3 separate regions of the Homo sapiens genome follow, and regions 1 and 3 are each linked to region 2. Evidence: promoter capture Hi-C in 16 types of primary human blood cells and fetal thymus (Javierre and others, 2016). All regions are on one chromosome and are shown on one strand. The core of a region is centred on a gene start or on the middle of the fragment in contact, and the rest is flanking DNA. Distances in the headings are between cores, read along the strand shown.

What was found. The method cuts DNA at HindIII sites, captures the fragments that hold promoters and counts their contacts. A CHiCAGO score of 5 or more calls a contact.
Region 1: a contact is called between a fragment that was not itself captured here and the fragment with the promoter of RRP8 in region 2, in 5 of 17 cell types (activated CD4 T cells, non-activated CD4 T cells, total CD8 T cells and 2 more). The highest score is 5.8, in activated CD4 T cells.
Region 3: a contact is called between a fragment that was not itself captured here and the fragment with the promoter of RRP8 in region 2, in 1 of 17 cell types (erythroblasts). The highest score is 6.0, in erythroblasts.

What each region holds. Positions count from the first base shown.
Region 1 is chr11:6,635,920-6,640,767 of GRCh38, forward strand. DCHS1 (dachsous cadherin-related 1) reads right to left here. Exons shown (of 21, transcript NM_003737.4): 2 at 3,898-4,848. Among named protein-coding and RNA genes, the nearest start is that of DCHS1, 17 kb to the right of the region's middle. The HindIII fragment of the contact is 8,749 bases long and covers 1-4,848 here.
Region 2 is chr11:6,602,208-6,605,966 of GRCh38, forward strand. RRP8 (ribosomal RNA processing 8) reads right to left here and starts at 1,409. Exons shown (of 7, transcript NM_015324.4): 1 at 1,197-1,409; 2 at 1-8. The coding sequence starts at 1,295. It overlaps ILK (integrin linked kinase), which reads left to right and starts at 1,567. Exons shown (of 13, transcript NM_004517.4): 1 at 1,567-1,615; 2 at 1,973-2,153. The coding sequence starts at 2,065. RefSeq lists enhancers at 642-1,183, 1,179-1,368, 1,959-2,198, 2,429-2,588 and a silencer at 1,439-1,648. The HindIII fragment of the contact is 3,835 bases long and covers 1-1,979 here.
Region 3 is chr11:6,550,570-6,554,850 of GRCh38, forward strand. The region is part of intron 24 of DNHD1 (dynein heavy chain domain 1); the gene reads left to right. Among named protein-coding and RNA genes, the nearest start is that of RRP8, 51 kb to the right of the region's middle. The HindIII fragment of the contact is 1,501 bases long and covers 794-2,294 here.

The DNA of each region.
Region 1 (4,848 bases), core at 1,846-4,345, 35 kb after region 2:
CACTGCAAATACAGTCTCCATTTTCAGCAGATTCTCAGCTCAGCGTCTCAGTCCGACCTTGGTCGGCTCCCTCTCCCATTCTGCCCCAAAGCCATAATAAACTTCATCCCTCTTCTCTTGCCCCCATCCCATCCCTTGCTCTCATCAGATGCACTATTTCAAGGAGAAAAGAAAGACACTTATCTGTGAACTCTCTAAACTTCTTACTAGCCTCGAAACTTACTCCATATGCCTATCCCAACCTCTTTTCCAGGTGTACCTCCTGCTTTGACTTTTCAAAACATAAATTATTTATTTATTTAATTTATTTTTGAGACAGGCTCTCTGTTGCCCAGTCTGGGGTGCAGTGGTGTGATCCTAGCTCACTGCAACTTCGAACTCCTGGGCTCAAGCAATCCTCCTGCCTTAGCCTCCGGAACAACTAGGACTACAGGCGTGCACCACCATGCCTGGCTAGTTTTTTTATTTTTTGCATAGACAGTGTTTCACTATGTTGCCCAGGCTGGTCTCAAACTCCTGGCCTCAACCAGTCCTTCCACCTTGGCCTCCCAAAGTGCCGAGATTACAGGCGTGAACCACTGTGCCTGGCCTTTATTTATTTTTTAAGACAGGCTCTCACTATGTTGTCCAGGCTGGTTTGGAACTCTTGGGCTCAAGTAATCCTCCTGCCTCAGCCTCCCGAGTAGCTTGGATTACAGGGATGCATCACCATGCCCATCTCTCCTGCTATGACTTCTTGATGCTACTTTTCCTGCTTCTCCACCCACTGCTTCCCCCACCACCCACTGCCAGTCTTCCTCCATCTCCCCTTATCTGCCTGTTCTTACACACTGTTCCCTGGAATCTCTCCTTGGCCTCTTCTCACTCCACACATTCTCTCAGGGCCTTGCCTTTTACTTCAGCCATCGTCTATACTTTCACTCTAGACCACTCCTCTGAGATTTCCCAACTTTTACATCCAGATGGCTGCTCAGCACCTCCACCTGGATGTCCCACAGGCACCCTAAATCCGACCAGCCCAAAACTAAACTCATGATCATTCCAAACCTGCTCTAATGACTCTTCCATCCACACAGTTGCTAAAGCCAGAAATCAGTTCTTCCCTTTTCTCACCTGGTATATCAATCAACCAGGGATTAAGTAAGTCCTCATTAACTCTATTTGTCTGTTCCTTTCCATCACCATTATCACCATTCTGACTTAGGCCTGAGCTGTCCTGAGTTATTGCTCCCCTGCATTATTTTGATTACCTTCTCATAGAGGTCTGACCCTCTGATCTGTACTCTCCACCAGGGTTTCTCAAATTGGCACTACTGACATTTTGGACCAGATAATGCTTTATTATGGGAGCTGCTAAGTGCCTTGCAGGATGGTTAGCAGCATTCTCAGCCTCTACCCACTAGATGCCAATAGTCTCCCACCCATTGTGACAATCAGAAATTTCTCTAGATATTGCTAATATCCCTTCTGGGGGGCAAAGTCACCCCTGGTTATGAACCACTGCTCTACATTGACTACCATTTGCATAAACAAATCTGATAATATTGCTATAGAAAAAAGCTCAAACCCTCTGACTTGGCTGAGCCTCCCTGCAGTCTCATCTCCCACCTTCCCATCTCCAGTCTTAACTCCAGAGATCCTGAGCCCCTAGTAGGCCCTTGAACAAACTGGGCCCTCCCACACCTCTGTGCACCTCACCTCTGCTTGGAAGCCTTCCCCCATCTGATACTCTCATAAATTGCTCATTCTTTAAGTCTCAACTCAGGGATCCCTTCCTTCAGGAAAGCACTCATACTGCCTATCTGTACCTCATATATATCCCCAAATGGAAATGTTCTTATTGGAATGAAACTATTTCTTTGCACATGAATCTCCCCTCTATAAACTCCTTAAGATGAGGGGAGTGACGCATTCATGACTGTATTCCGTGTCTCTAATACAGTGACTAGCACATGGTAGACATTCAATACATGTATATTGAATAAATCAAACATTAAGACTTCTTGTGACAGTTGTAAACCCCAAATGGTCATTTTTACCCCGATTCTCTATGGTTACTAATAGTAAAAACTCCAGGAAACCACCTGGAGAGTTGCCCTCTTGCTTCAGGCACTAGTGAGGAGAGAAGTCTGGAAGCCATAGCCCATTGGTCCTGGACAAGAAGGAGAGTAAACACGTGGAAGAGTGGGTGGTGGAGCTGCACAGCAGCAGGCGAGCAAATATGCAGAGTCTGGCCAGAGGACAAGAGGTCAGCCAGGCCCAGAGCTAGCCTGGAAGTCTATGCCCTGAGGAGATGTTCAAGAGTCTGGTGGAGTTTGGAGACATAAGGACACTAAGCACCAGCCTCCTAAGAGGACTCCCTGCCCACTGTCCTCTCTCCTGCTGCCATTCTCCACAGTGCAGCCAAAGCAATCTTTCTTAAAGACATATCAGATTTGCTTAGAGTCCTTCACTTGCTCCCTATGATTTTCAAGATAAAGTTGAATTTGTGACCTGGCTCCTGTCTACTGTCTTTTCTCATCTCCCCCGACTCTTTCTCATTAGTACAGCTGATGCCAGCCTGAACAATACAGTCTCCTGAACACGTCCTGGTATTTGTTCAGCAGCTCTTTCCTTAGGCCTGGAGTCTCCATCTGCACACCTCATATTATCCATTTGGCAAAGTTTCATTAGTTCTTCAAGGCCCCTCCTCTGGGCTTCCACAGCACTCATACGCCACCTGCTGCAGCACTAGTTGCTGATGTGTCTCCCTATCTAGACTGTGACCACCCTGGGAACAGGATTGTCTCTTTTCTTTGTTCTCTGGGCCTAGCACAGTGCTAGGCTTACAGTAGTTAAATAAAATCTTGAACATATGAATCAAGGAACGATCTGTCACACACCTGCTGATCCAATCACCCTTAAAGCCAGATAGCTAACTTAATAAAACCCAACCTGATCATTCACTTCCCAGCTCAAAGAAATTCAGTGATCTCCTCGAGGGCAGATCAAGACCATCCTGGCTAACACAGTGAAACCCCGTCTCTATTAAAAATACAAAAAATTAGCTGGGTGTGGTGGAGGTGCCTGTAGTCCCAGCTACTTGGGAGGCTGAGGCAGGAGAATGGCGTGAACCCAGGAGGCAGACTTGCAGTGAGCCCAGATCATGCCACCGCACTCCAGCCTGGGCAACAGAGCGAGACTCCGCCTCAAAAAAAAAAAAAAGAAGTTCAGTGAGCTCCTTTGCTTCCCAAGTAGTCCTAACTACTGCTTTGTGTTCAAGGACTTCTGCAACCTGGCCTCAGAGTGCCTTTCCAGTTTCATGTTCCCTCCATTTCTCCAGGACTGACTTGCAGCCAGTATGTGTCTTTCTCAGCCTGTCCAGGGTTCCTGCCTCTTCCCCTGAGAGGCCTTCCTGCTCTGGATATTGAGATAATTCTTGCTATCTCTCATTCTCATGTCTGAGACCAAATGGCCTATTAAGGCTCAGCTCTGAGGGCAGGGATGAGGATTTCTTCCAGCACAACCCAGCACTTGACAAGCAATGGAGGGCCCCATAAATTCTGGTGTCTTCTTTGGGGAACAGAAGCCACATACGTATGTAGAATCTCCATCTCTGCCCTGCAGAACAGCTTTGAGGCTTTCATTTCCTGACACCACAAATCATTTCTCCACTAGATCCAATCTTAATTTCCTCACCTGCCAAGACCATCTGCCTCAGCTCTTGCACCCTGCTTTCTCATCTTCTCATTAACCCTCATCCTCTGCACAGATTTTGGAGCTTACAACATAGGGCAGAACCCTCTAGCATAAGTCACCATCAACAGATGACCTTGTAAGGCTTGGTTCCTGCTCTGAGGTCCCCTGTGGCTCTCAGATTCCCCCAACACTATCTTGCTATGTGCCAGGCCTACCCACCTGCAGGAAGCAAGTTCCAGGCTGGGTGCCCTCAGGCAGTGAGGCATTGTAGAAAGTCCTCTGGAATTGGGGCTCATTATCATTCACATCTTGCAGGGCCACGCTAACTGTGGCAGAGGAGGCTAGAGGGGGCAGGCCACCATCTGTGGCCACCACAATCAGCTGTGGCTGAGGTTCCAACTCATAGTCCAGTGAGGCAGCCGTAGTGATAATGCCTGAGGTGGGGTCAATGGAGAACCAGTGGGTGTGGGCGCCAGGGGCTAGGCTATAAGTGACCTGACCATTGGTGCCTTGGTCAGGATCCCGAGCAGTCACCCGCACTACAAAGCTGCCAGGCAGCGCAACCTCAGGCAGGGGCTCAGGTCGGTAGAGCTGGCGGTCAAAGGCAGGTGCATTGTCGTTGACATCAGTGACGTGCAGCACAAAGGCAGCCTCAGCCCGCAGTGGAGGTGAGCCTGAGTCTGTGGCTGTAACCCTCAAGTTATAGGCATCCCTCTCCTCTCGATCCAGCCGCCGAGCCACACACACCAGATAGATGACGCTGTCTTGGGTGCTTAGGGCAAAGTGGCCCTCTCCACCTTCCAGGGACACATTGACATGGGCAAAGTCACCATCATCTGGGTCTGACACAGAGATGCGAGCAACGAGCTGTCCAGGTGGGGCGGCCTCAGACACTTGGGGGGAGCCATCTGCACTGAGAAAGATGACAGTCATGGAGGGCTGATTGTCATTGGCATCTCGCACATGCACAGTCACAAAGGCCGAGCCCAGCTCAGGGTGAGCCCCACCATCTCGTGCTTGCACCACCAGTTCATGGACCCGCCGCTGCTCAAAGTCCAGTGGCCGCTCTAACTGCAGCAGCCCCGTGTGTGCGTCGATGGAGAAGGGTCCATCACCCTCGCTCTGCCTCCGGTTGATCTCGTAAGTCACAGCCCCATTGACACCAGCATC
Region 2 (3,759 bases), core at 159-2,658:
TTGGAGCCCTGGAGGAAAACAGGGGATGACAGTGGGCCTAAAGAGAATGGATGAGGCCTGGAGAACAAGAAGGGAGAGATGTGGACCTGATTCAGACTGGCAGAAGCATCTGAATTCTTCCCAGTCAAGCCTGCCAGAACCCAGAAGAACTTTTATGTCACCACCCCAACTTCTGGGAAGCTGGAGAGCAGAGAAACCACCTATCCCACTTTCTTCAATGTGTAAATGAGCTAATGGAGGTTTCCCCAAAGGAAAATGCAAAGGCCACAAGCAACAAGACCAAGGCCAGAGACCAGGAATTCCAACCCTTCACCTTGAGCTTTTGCCTAGAGCTGATACATTTCTGTAAGAGGTAAGGAGGCTTCTGAACACAGGAGACACATGATCACACACGTATATTAAATATTTAACATGTCTCTAGCTGCAGTGTAGAAAACAAACTGAAGGGGAGAAATTGCAGACAGAGAGGCCAGCGGCTTGGACAATGGTAATGGGGCTAGGGGATGAAAAAGGAGGAAACAAAGCAGGCCGATTCCATGTTGGAGGCAGACTGAAGGGTAAGAAAAGCCTGAGGAAGCAGGGCCCTCACATCTGCAGAGGCTCAAAGGAGAAGATGTATTGTCGGGAAGGCTGATTCTGTGTTGCAGTCCTACCAGGTAATCCTAGGCCAGGCACTTACCCTGATTCTAAGTTTCCCACACCCTCCTTTGAACAATGATACTGACAACTCTTACTGTCTCCAATCCATCCTCCACACTGTAACCGACGACCCTTTCAAAATACAAATCTGAAGAAATAATTCCATTGCTTAAAACCTTTCATTGGCTTCTATTCTCAATATACGCAAAACTTCTACCTCTTGAACTTGAACAGCATATATGCCCCTTTCATTTACTATGTATTTCAACCACAAGGACCACTTGTGTTTGTGACTCTGACAGAACATGCTCTCTTGTCCCAGGGCCCTTGTACGTACTTTTTCCTGTCTGAAGAACCCTCTTCGCTTCACCAACTTCTACTCAACAACTCTCTCTGACCCAACGTCAGTTTCTTTTGGAAGTTCTCGGATCTTCAGATCAGGACTCGCCCTTAACGGTGCCACAGGTGTCCCTCCCCGCAATACACACAGCGCTGGGATCCACCAATGTCCGCTTCGCGGCCTGAAACAGCTCCCATTGCTCCCGCGAGTCACTCACCTTGTTTTGCGAGGAGGCCGCAGGCGGAGGTCGTGAGATTACGGGCCCAAGGCCCGCGGCTACTGGGGCCGCCTCGGCCCACTCAGGCTCTTCGAACATGAGGGTCGGGAGGGCAGGGTCGCCGAGTCCCCGCTCTTCTCCACGTGCACAGCGCTCCTCTGGAAGTCGGAGCGCTCAGACCTGCCAGAACCGACCCGGAAACCAAAGCGTGACAGCCAGGGGTTGCTAGAGCGGCCGGCGCGGCGCAGCGAACCATCGAGTTTAGCCAGGCGCGGCTAGAAGGGCAGGGAGGCGGTGGGAGGGGAGGGACGGAGGCCCGCGCTGCCCAAGAGCGCCACGGGCGGGGCGGGGCCGGCGGCGGGCTGCGGGCGCGGCCGGACGGGAGTTCCCCGGAGAAGGATCCTGCAGCCCGAGTCCCGGTGAGTGCGAGAGGACCCGCGCCCCCTGTCACCCCTCACTTCTCCTGAGTCCCAAGTAAGGAACGGAGCCAACCCTGGGGAGGACCCCCGGTCCCCTCTCCCAGAGTATACGGAGCCTGAACCTCCCCACTTCCCCCAACTCTGTTCGCGGATAGGGTCTAGTTGCCTGCTCTCGGACATCCGTTCAGCAGACACTACCTCTTCGTCACCCCCTGCCCACCCTGACCCGCCTTTACCTCGCGTCTAGAGGACACAGCCAGGGATCATCCCGCAGCCCCGAACTCCTTCACAGACCCCCACTAGCCGGGGACGCAGCTCAGGCCCCCTACCCCCAACACAAACACTTCTCTCCTGTAGAGGATAAAGCTTGGGGTTCATCCTCCTTCCCTGGATCACTCCACAGTCCTCAGGCTTCCCCAATCCAGGGGACTCGGCGCCGGGACGCTGCTATGGACGACATTTTCACTCAGTGCCGGGAGGGCAACGCAGTCGCCGTTCGCCTGTGGCTGGACAACACGGAGAACGACCTCAACCAGGGGTGAGCTGAAACGGTTGGTGGATGAGAGGAAGGCTAGAGATCTCCTGGCTACGTGGAGTGGAGTGCTCATGTCTGGTGGTGGCGGCTGCCTTTGCTAGCCAGTGTAATGAGTGCTAAGCATAGCCTGTGGGGGGCAGAGGGTTTTCACAGAGGACGCAGTTTGAGCTGAATCTTGACTGCAGAATAAGAGTTTCACAGGCAGAGGCTACAGAGAGCTTTCCAGCCTCAGTAGACTGCATGGCCAAAGGCTAGGGGGCAAGGCACAGAGCAGAGAGAACAGGAAATTGTCTGGAGTTCCATATGGCTGGAGGATAGATGATCTCTGTGGGTCGGAGCATTGGGTACAAGAGGAAAAGAACAGGACATAAGACTGTAGAGGTCTCCAAGGATCAGCCAGATCATGCAAGCATATTTAGGCTATAAGAAGGTCTTTATTTTAAAAGCAAGGTTTTAAAGCTGTATAGTGACATAATGAGATTGTCCATTTTTCAGTATCGTCTTGGATGCTTTGTGAAGAGCAGGTGGAAAGGAGGCAATTGCCTAGTTCATCGTAGAAGTAATGATGTCTTGGACTAGAATTAGGGTGAGTGAAAAAGAGAAGTGATCAAATTCCAGAAGTCTTTAGGACGAAGAATTGTGGAACTTGGTGTGGGGAGTGAGTAAGGGCAAAGATGAGGACCAGGGTTCTGGCTTGGGAACTTGGTTGTTTTTACTGAGATGGAGAAAACTGGAGGATGAGGCATTTTATTTTGGACATGTTAAAGTTAAGGTGACAATACAGCAAGGTGGAAATGTTGAGTGTGTTGTTGGTTATGCAGATTTGCAATTCAGGGGAGGAATCTGACTTGGAGACACAGATTTGAGAGCTATCAGCATATAGATAGCATATATATATCATATATATAGATGATACTTGAAGACGTGGTTGTGAAGGAGAACGTCTCAGGAGAGTGGAAGGCAAGAGGTCAGGGGACAGGAAGCCTGCACGACAGAAAAGGAGCAACCGCAAGTTGAAAAAGAAATAGGAAAATGTGTGAGTAAAGCTTACAGAAGAGAATGTTTTAATGAAGGGGAGGTAGTCAACGGCAGTACAGGCTACTGAGAGATCAAAGAACATTAATATTTTAAAGTAGCCATTGAATTTACAGTTGGGTTTTTTTTTTTTAAGTTAAGGGGTACATGTGCAGGTTTGTTGGATGGGTAAACTCAGGTCATGGAGGTTTGTTGTGCAGATCATTTCATCACCCAGGTATTAAGCCGTGGCACCCATTAGTTATTTTTCCTGATCCCTCCCTCTTCCTACCCGCCCCACTCTGGTAGGCCCCAGTGTCTGTTGCTCCCCTCAGTGTGCAGTTAGGATGTATTTGACCATCTGTGAGTGTTGTTTCAGAATAATGGGTGAAGAAATCAGACTACATTGGGTTCCTTAATTTAAGGCACTATGATGAACACCTTCTGTGCTGGGTGCTAGAGTCCAGAATCTGACATAATCTCTGCTCTCGATACAGCAGATTTGTGGCAGATTGAAAAGTAGGCCGGGCGCGGTGGCTCACGCCTGTAATCCCAGCACTTTGGGAGGCCGAGGCTGGTGGATCACGAGGTCAGG
Region 3 (4,281 bases), core at 294-2,793, 52 kb before region 2:
GAAGCAAGCAATAGAATAGAAACTGACCCTGAGATCTATATAGCTGTACGCTGTCCAAAAGATGCACTTTAAATATAAAAACACAGATAGATTAAAAGAAGTTTTTAATGCAAAATATTTACTACAGAAATAGTTTGCATAAGGAAGTTGATGTGGCAATATTAATACCAAAGCACTTTAAGACAAAGGATATTACCAGAGATAGAAAAGGACATCTCATAATTGAAAGATTCAACTCATCAGAAAGACAAAAGTCTTAAATGTGTCCACACCTAAAATAGACATTTAAGTATAGGGAAAAAAAGCCAATAGAAACAAAAGAGACATAGTAAATCTGAAATCATATTAAGAAATTAATATGCCTCTCACAATAACTGATAAGACAAGGAGCAAGAAAGTAGGGACATTAAAGATCTGAATAACACTAGCAACACACTGACATTTACAAAACATTATACTCACCAACTGCAAAATGCACCTTCTTTTCAAATGCACATGAAACATTCACCAAGATAGACCATATGCTGGGTTACAAAATAAGTCTCAACAAATTTCAAAGGATTAACATTTTAAATAATATTTTATCTGACCATAACAATACAAATATTGATAAGATGCCTAGAGAATTTCCAAATTCTTTAAAATTAACACACTTCTAAATAATGTACCAAAAAAGAAATTACAAGAGAAATTAGAGAATGTTTTGAACTAAATAATAATGAAAACAAAACATATCAAAATTTGTGAGATGCAACTAAAGGTTATAGCTTTAAATATCTATCTTAGAGAGAAAAGCTTGGAATCAATGACCTAAATTTTCAGCTTAAGACTCTAGAAAAAGAAGAGCAAGTTATACCCAAAGCAATTAAAAGGAAATCAATAATAAAGAACAGAGCAGAAATCAGTGAAATAGAAAAACATACAAACAATGGAGAATATCAACAAAGCCATATTTTGTTTCTTTGAAAAAGATAAAATTGACAATCGCCTATTAACACAAATCAAGAAATGAAAAGGAAAACATAAATTTTGAATATCAGGAATGAAAGAGGTTTTATTAAAGATATTTAAAAGGATAAAAAGGGAGCCAGGGCCGGGCACTGTGGCTCACGCCTGTAATCCCGGCACTTTGGGAGGCCAAGGAGGGCAGATCACGAGGTCAGGAGATGGAGACCATCCTGGCCAACATGGTGAAACCCCGTCTCTACTAAAAATGCAAAAATTAGCTGGGCATGGTGGCATGTACCTGTAATCACAGCTACTCGGGAGGCTGAGGCAGGAGAATTGCTTGAACCAGGGAGGTGGAAGTTGCGGTGAGCTGAGATTTGCACCACTGCACTCCAGCCTGGTGACAGAGCGAGACTCCGTCTCCAAAAAAAAAAAGGGGAGCCAGGCATGGTGGCATGCACCTGTAATCCCAGCTACTAGGGAGGGAGGCTTAGGCAGGAGGATTTCTTAAGGCCAGGAGTTCAAGACCAGCCTGGGCAGCATAGTGGGACCCTCATTTAAAAAAAAAAGTTTTAAAAAATGGATAATAAGGGAAAATTATGAAAAACTTTATGCTAATAAATTTAGCAACTTAGGTGAAATGGATACATGCTGTATTAGTCTGTTTTCACACTGCAATAAAGAACTACTTGAGACTGGGTAATTCATAAAGAAAAGAGGGTTAGGCCAGGCATGGTGGCTCACGCCTGTAATCCCAGCACTTTGGGAGGCTGAGGCAGGTTGATCCCTTGAGGTCAGGAGTTTGAGACCAGCCTGGCCAACATGGTGAAACCCCATCTCTACTAAAAATACAAAAATTAGCTGGGTGTGGTGGGGGTCACCTGTAATCCCAACTACTTGGGAGGCTGAGGCAGGAGAATCGCTTGAACCTGGGAGGCAGAGGTTGCAACGAGCCAGGATCACGCCATTGCACTCCAGCCTGGGTGACAAGAGCAAAACTTCGTCCCAAAAAATATATATATATAAGTAGGTTTAATTGACTCACAGTTCCGCATGGATGGGGAGCCCTCAGGAAACTTAAAGTCGTGGCAAAAGGCGAAGGGGAGGCAAGGCACATCTTACATAGCAGTTGGCGGGGGCGGGGTGGGGTGAAGAGATGTACCATCAGAACTTATGAGAAATTGCTCACTATCATGAGAACAGCATGGGGGAAGCCGGCCCCGTGATCCACTCACCTCCCACCAGGTCCCTCCCTCAACATATGGGGATTACAATTCAAGACAAAATTTGGTTGGGGACACAGAGCCAAACCATATCACATGCCTTACAAAAACATAACTTGTCAAAGCTTGAACAAAAGAAGAAAAATAATAGAAAATGAACAGCCTCATACCTAAGAAAAGTTTGAATGCATAATAAATGTTTCCAGTCCCAGATGGTTATACAGTTGAATTATATCAAATATTTAGAAAAAAAGTACAACTTATATATACTTTTTCAGAAAATGGAGAATACTAAGCCATGATGAAGACATTTCAAGCAAAGAAATAAACTGTTATCTTTCATAAACCTAAATGCAAAAATAAATCCTCACTGAAATATTATTAAATAAAATTCAGCAACATACAAAAAGAATAATATCTTAAGACCAAACGGAGTCTATCCTGGGAAGGCAAAGCTGACTAAACATTGAAAAATCAATCAGTGTAGCTCACATTAACAGAATAAAGGAGCAAATGAGTAAGTAATATTAGTAGATAAAAATCACTTGACAAAATTCCAACACTATTCCATAACTCCCAGGAAACTAGGAATAGAAGATAACTTTCTCAATTTGATGAAAAGCATCTATTATACTTACAGCTAAATACATACTTAATGGTTAAATATTGAATACTGTCCCCCTAAAATCAGTTAAAAGGCAAGAACATACTCACTGCTTCTATTCAACACTGTACTGGAGACCACATCGACGCAATTAAGAAAAAGAAATAAAAGCTTTTAAAATTAGAAAAGACAAGTTAAAACTGTCTGTATTGGCATGTAATATGATTGTCTACATAGAGACCCCAAAGGAATATTTTTTTAAACCCCATAAAAAACTACTACAATAAATAAGTTAATTCATCAGGGTCACAGGATACAGAATCAATCCATTGAAATCATTTGTACTTCTATATCCTAGTAACAAAACATTGGAAATTGAAATTTTAAAATATCACTTAAAAGTCATTTAAAAGCATAAAATACTTAGGAATAAATTTAATTAAAAGCATTCAAGATCTGTACACTGAAAATGACTAAATATTGCTGAGATAGAGGAAATGTAAATAAATGGAGAAATATATGATGTTCATGGATCAGAAGAGTCAGTATCATTAAGGTCTTCATTCTCCCCCAAATGATCTATAGATTCAATGCAATGCCAAGCTAAATCTTAACAGATTTTTTTTTGGTAAGTTGACAGTCTTATTCTGAAACTTATATAGCAATGCAAAAGATCTAGAGCAGCCAAGCAACTTTGAAAAAGAACAAAGTTGGGACACCTACACTAGTGATGTTAAAACTTGCTATACAGTTGTTGTAATGAAGAGAGTGTGGTATTGGTATAAGGATATACATATGGACTAATGGAATAGAACAGAAAATCTGATATATAGTCATATGTGGCCAGTTGATTTTTAATAAATGTGCCAAGATAATTCAATGGGGGAAAGGATAGCCTTTTCAAAAAATGGTGCTGGAACATCTGGATATATGCATGGAAAAAAATGAACCATGTATTCTACCTCAAAATCTAGATAAAAATAAATTATAGGTGGATCACAGACCTAAAGCTAAAACTATAAAATTTTTAGAAAAAAATTGGAGAAAAATCTGTGTGACCTTGGTTGGGCAATGATTTCTTGGGCACAAAAACTAAATTTTATCAAAATTGAAAACCTATGCCCTTCAAAAGACACTGTTACGAAAATGAAAAAAATAAGCTATTGACAGAGAAAACATGCATGATACATGTATCTGACAAAGGACTTGAACCTAGAATACATAAAAAACTCTTACAACTCAATAAGAAAACAAACATCATCCCAATGTTTTAAATGGACAAAAGACTTACACTTCACAAAAGATGTATGAGTGGGCAACAGTATACAAAAAGATGCTTGATATTATCAGGCATCAGTGAACTGCAAATTTAAACCACCATGTGATAATTAAAAAGACTGACAATAATAAGTGTTTTCAAAGATGTAGAGCAACTGAAACTCTCTCACTTTGATGGTGAGAATGTAAAATGGTACATCCACTATAAAAAATATATGCCAGTTTCTT